2 separate regions of the Homo sapiens genome follow, and region 2 is linked to region 1. Evidence: promoter capture Hi-C in human tissues and cell types (Jung and others, 2019). All regions are on one chromosome and are shown on one strand. Each heading gives the region's core, a stretch centred on a gene start or on the middle of the fragment in contact. The rest is flanking DNA. Distances are from core to core; before and after follow the strand shown.

Region 1 (2,700 bases), core at 54-2,553:
GTCACTCATTCCTAAAAATAATCATGGCTGGAGGAGACCAATGTCAGCTCAAAACCATGTGTCCCCCAGGAACACAACAGAAAAGAGAATCAGGTGACCAAGGAGAGTTTATTGGGGAGCAGGAGGAGGTGCTGAGAGGTTCAAGTCGAGGCCAAGTGACCCAGAGCAGAGAAGCTGGGAGGGAGGACAGGGGACCTAGCAGGCAGGTGGGCACCTGCTGGAAGGCAAGAGCTGGGGAGCTGCAAGGATGGAGGCTCCTGGGAGCAAGGAGGGGGGGTCACCTCAGCACAGGGGAGACACGGGGACCCGTCCTAGGTGGGGGAAGCCACCTAACCCAGGTCAGGAACTGAGCCCAGCTGGCCCAGGGCGGGTGCCCATCAGCAGCTGGACTCCTGGCCTGAGCAGAGGCCTCAGCAGGCCGGGCGGGAGCACGCGGGGCGGCAGAGGAGGGACACGCAGGAGGCCGGGCGGCAGCAGCTGGCCTGGCAGGAGGAGGCAGGGGCACAGCAGGAGGAGACAGGCATACAGCAGGCGGGCCGGCATACAGGGCGGCAGAGGAGGGACACGGAGGAGGAGGGTCTGCAGCAGGAGGTGGTGCAGCAAGCCGGCTGGCAGCTAGACTGCTGGCAGCATGAAGTGGAAGCCCCAGAGCAGACGGGCACACAGCAGATGGGCTTGCAGCAGACAGGCTTGCAACGGACGGGCACGCAGCAGGCCTGCTGGCAGGGGGAGGAGGTGCAGCAAGCTGGATGGCAGCTAGACTGCTGGCAGCATGAAGAGGAATCCTCAGAGCAGGTGGGCACATAGCACACAGGCTTGCAGCAAACAGGCACACAGCAGGACTGCTGGCTGGAGGAAGAGGCACAGCAAGTTGGCTGGCAGCTAGACTGCTGGCAGCATGAAGAGGAATCCTTAGAGCAGGTGGGCAGGCAGCACACAGGCTTGCAGCAGACGGGCACGCAGCAGGCCTGCTGGCAGGGGGAGGAGGTGCAGCAAGCCGGCTGGCAGCTAGACTGCTGGCAGCACGAGGGCGTGCAGGAGCTGGTGCAGCCTGATTGGCAGGGGCTGGGCTCACAGGCTGCCTGGCAGCAGGGGCTGGACACACGGCTCACTGGGGTGCAGACCAGGGTCAGGCAGGGGGCCGGGGCGCAGCAGCTGAGGGCGCAGCAGTGGGGCTCACAGCAGCTCTCTGGGCAGGCATCCACCTGCCAGGAGTCGGAGCAAGCGCTGGAGCAGACGGACATGGTGGACGCGGCCATGCTGGGGTGGGGAGGAGGTGAGCTGCGGGAGGTGTGAGTGAGTGAGTGTGGGAGTCAGTGTGTGTGTGAGTGACTGAGTGTGTGAGTGAGTGTGTGAGCTTCGTGGGGCTCTGCTTTTATACCCCTTCTGGCCTTGTTGTTCCAGGGCCCACAGCGTCCCCTTCCTGGTTGCTGAGAGGTGGCGTGTGTCATGACTAGGGATGTTTGTTTGCCTGTGATGTGGCCCAGGTCATAAATCTCCTGTCCTGTCTGGGCTGTAGCCTGTCCCATGTGGATCCCTGGGGGCAAGAGTGGAGGTGGACCTGGTCCCAGCACGCCACCAGTGCAGTCCGGGTTGTAAGAAGGGGGCTGCGGAGGCAGGGGTGGCCCTTCAGCCTTATGCAAAGTGTGGCATGCCAGGGTGAGAGCTGTCCCACTCACGATCGTGGGGGCGTCTCCTCCCTAAAGCGGGTCCTCACTGAAGAGGCAGAAGCAGCTGGTAGAAGCACAGGATCACTGGAGCAGCCGGAGAGAAGGTGCAGCAGTGGCCAGCGAACCCCACAGTGGTGGCCCTGCACATTCCTTCCCCCATCCCCATCACTGAAGAAATTAGAGCCCCAAACAGGGAGAAGGGGAGCAAGGAAGGAGAGGCCATGCCCCTCCCCACGGCCTTCCCCGAGGTCCACTCAGACGTTGGTGTGGGAACGCTGGGGATAGGACTGGGTTTCGGACAGGAAAGAAAAGTTTTGAACTGGCCCATGGATTTGGTTCTGCTCTTAAAGGCCATAGCTTTATGATGTGCTTCAACCATAGATAACTCAAGTCCCGTTATCAATATTCTTAAATTTATTTTTTTTTTTTTTTGTACAGATGGCGTCTCAAGTGATCCCTCCTGCCTTGGCCAAAGTACTGGGATTGCAGGCGTGAGCCCGGTGCCTGGCCATCATCAGTATTTCTGCACCACGTGTCTTCCCTGTTCCTGTTCATTGTCCTTGCTGTCCTCAGCTTCCTTTCTTCAAACGTAAGCTGCATGTGAGCAGGGAGTGTGTTTGTCTTGTTCACCACTCAGTCTTCAAAGGCCTAAAATCATGCCTGGCCCAAGGAAAAGCCTTTATAAAAATGGGCTGAAATAATAAACTTTTTTGGAGAAATTATTGAAGAGTAATTTTGAGCTCTGAACGCGATTCCATTGTGCCACCTTTTTCTTATGCTGTATAAAATGCTCTGTCAAGTTCTCCTTTCGTGTGTGGGGAACTGGCTTACATCAGACTGGCCATCTAGCTGAGAAATATTAGGAAATCTGGTTTACAAACAAAATCTCTGTTCGAAGGGGCCGGGAGGTATCAAGACAGCTGAGACTTGAGTGAGTGAATCCGCATTAGAGAGAAACTGCACAGAAGTGAGTCCAATATTCCTTGTGGATTTTCTTACTGAGGCATTTACCAATTTACAGACCACAGCC
Region 2 (2,700 bases), core at 138-2,637, 38 kb before region 1:
GAACCTGGCAGGGTTTTGCTTTGAGGACAAATCCCTTATAATGTTTATTCACACTGTTCATCTTTTCTTCTAAAAATTCATATTTATATCTTTTGTCCATTTTTCCAAATTTAAAGACACATTTTTTATTAGTTTGTAAGGGTTGGTTTTCTGTCGTGTGTGTGGTAAAGAGTTTGTCTTTTGCTTTTGAATAGGATGTCTGTTTCCATAGAAAGCTTTTAACACAGGTGGTCGACCCAGTGCCTTTCCTTCTGGGCTTGTCTTCTTCATAGAACCCTGAGGTTATACAACTGCCTTCAGCTTTTCTTCTTTTTCACATTTGGACTTTTAATCCATATAACATTTATTTTTGTGTACAATGTGAAGTGGGGGTAAGCTTTGTTTTCTTCCAGATTACATGAAGCTAATCTCCCGAATCATATGGAGTTATCAAGTAAAACCCATCCTTTTCTCATTGCCTTCAAATATAGCATTTATGGCCGGGCGGGGTGGCTTACGCCTATAATCTCAGCACTTTGGGAGGCTGAGGCGGGCAGATCACTTGAGGTCAGGAGTTCGAGAACAGCCTGGCCAACATAGTGAAACCCCATCTCTATTAAAAATACAAAAATTAGCCAGGCATGGGCTAGGCGCAGTGGCTCATGCCTGTAATCCCAGCACTTTGGGAGGCCGAGGCGGGCAGATCACAAGGTCAGGAGATCGAGACCATCCTGGCTAACACAGTGAAACCCCATCTCTACTAAAAAATACAAAACAATTAGCCAGGTGTGGTGGCAGGTGCCTGTAGTCCCAGCTACTCAGGAGGCTGAAGCAAGAGAATGGCGTGAACCCAGGAGGCGGAGCTTGCAGTGTGCCGAGACTGGGCCACTGCACTCCAGCTTGGGCGACAAAGCGAGACTCCATCTCCAAAAAGAAAAAATAAAATTAGCCAGGCATGGTTGGCCCATGCCTGTGGTCCCAGCGACTAGGGAGGCTGAGGTGGGAGGATTGCTTGAGCCTGGGAATTTCAGCCTGCAATGAGCTGAGGTTATGCCACTGCACTTCAGCCTGGGCTACAGAGTGAGACCCTGTCCCCCCCAAAAAATAAATAAGAAGGAGATATTATTAAAAAGGTACCCAGGCCCAGATGGCTTTATAACTGAATTTAACCCAGCTGTCAGAAATGAGAGAAAAAATCCTATTCTTCAGACTATCCCAGTCCACAGGTGCAGTTAGAAAGCCCTGCAGTGTGTATTTACTGTTAGGCTTCATTTTAAACTGGATAAAGTTAAGTCCCCAAAAGAAAACCACCGAGCAATCTAATTTCCTATTATAGATGCTAAAAGCTTAAAGACAGGCAATTGGAAGCCAGTGGCTTATTCAATAATTCTGCATCATCACCAAGTGGCATCGGGTCTAATAACGCGAGGAGATGTCTCACTATAAATCATGACATCAACAGTAAACATAGTGGACCGCACCACGCACTCACAGATGCCAAAGGAGACCTCAGCCCTGGCCCGGATGGCCCACAGCCCATCAAACGGCCATGCTCAGATGTGCTCGTTAAATTAGAGCAAGGTGGGACAGCTGCCACTTCTGCCGCCATCCAAGATTGTTCTGGAATCTTTAGCTAGGGAAGCAAGCTACATAATCAATTAGAACACTAGAAATCAAGGGGAAATGTTCTTTATTCTCAGAGGTAATTACATTCCTAAGTCCCCTGAGAATCTTTTTAAGAAAAGCTATTAGAACTGATTGGTTAGGGGGCGAGAAAATGATTGTCATGATGAGCAGCTGCAAATGAAAGTTAAAAAGCCAACCCCATTCGTTAAACGTACGATACTTGGAAAACTCCTGGAAATAAATGAGAACACCACAGTGTCTATGAGAGAAAAATTAAATATCAACAACTCCCATGTTAGGATGTCCACACGCCGCATCCCTGACAGAATCCAAAGGCAGAAGCACCAGCACTCGTGGGTTGTGGCTACACCCGGGGCAGGGCCCCAGCTCAGATCCCACACGGGTGCAGCCAGCGCCGGGCCATCCACTGGGCCCAGCCAATCTCGGAAATGACACCTGACTTGGGACTCGCTGTGAGCCGGTGGCACCTGCGAGAGAAGGTGAGCCCCCGGGGGGAAGCAAGGCTCTGGGAGGAGGCCGGCCTCGGTGAGCCCTTGGGGGGAAGCAAGGCTCTGGGAGGAGGCCGGCCTCGGTGAGCCCTCGGGGAAGTAAGGCGCTGGGAGGAAGCTGGCCTCAGTGAGCCCTCGGGGAAGCAAGGCTCTGGGAGGAAGCTGGCCTCGGTGAGCCCACAGTGGGGAAGCAAGGTGCTGGGAGGAAGCCGGCCTCGGTGAGCCCTCGGGGGGAAGCAAGGCTCTGGGAGGAAGCTGGCCTCGGTGAGCCCTCAGGGGGAAGCAAGACTCTGGGAGGAGGCCGGCCTCGGTGAGTCCTCGGGGGGAAGCAAGGCTCTGGGAGGAGGCCGGCCTCGGTGAGCCCTTGGGTGGAAGCCGGCCTTGGTGAGCCCACAGGGGGGAAGCAAGGCGCTGGGAGGAGGCCGGCCTTGGTGAGCCCACGGGGGGAAGCAGTGTGCTGGGAGGAAGCTGGCCTCGGTGAGCCCTCGGGGGGAAGCAAGGCTCTGGGAGGAGGCCGGCCTTGGTGAGCCCTCGGGGGGAAGCAAGGCTCTGGGAGGAAGCCGGCCTCGGTGAGCCCTCGGCGGGA

What was found. Contacts are between HindIII fragments. The study calls those that stand out against the background at their distance.
Region 2: a contact is called between a fragment that was not itself captured here and the fragment with the promoter of KRTAP10-1 in region 1, in 2 of the 25 tissues and cell types used here (lymphoblastoid cells and mesendoderm cells).

The regions. Positions count from the first base shown.
Region 1 is chr21:44,538,892-44,541,591 of GRCh38, forward strand. KRTAP10-1 (keratin associated protein 10-1) reads right to left here and starts at 1,304. Exons shown (of 1, transcript NM_198691.3): 1 at 90-1,304. The coding sequence starts at 1,259. The coding sequence ends at 411. All of the region lies in intron 2 of TSPEAR (thrombospondin type laminin G domain and EAR repeats), which reads right to left. RefSeq lists an enhancer at 42-706. The HindIII fragment of the contact is 21,448 bases long and covers 1-2,700 here.
Region 2 is chr21:44,500,691-44,503,390 of GRCh38, forward strand. All of the region lies in intron 11 of TSPEAR (thrombospondin type laminin G domain and EAR repeats), which reads right to left. Among named protein-coding and RNA genes, the nearest start is that of TSPEAR-AS1, 4.0 kb to the right of the region's middle. RefSeq lists an enhancer at 2,472-2,700. The HindIII fragment of the contact is 6,330 bases long and covers 1-2,700 here.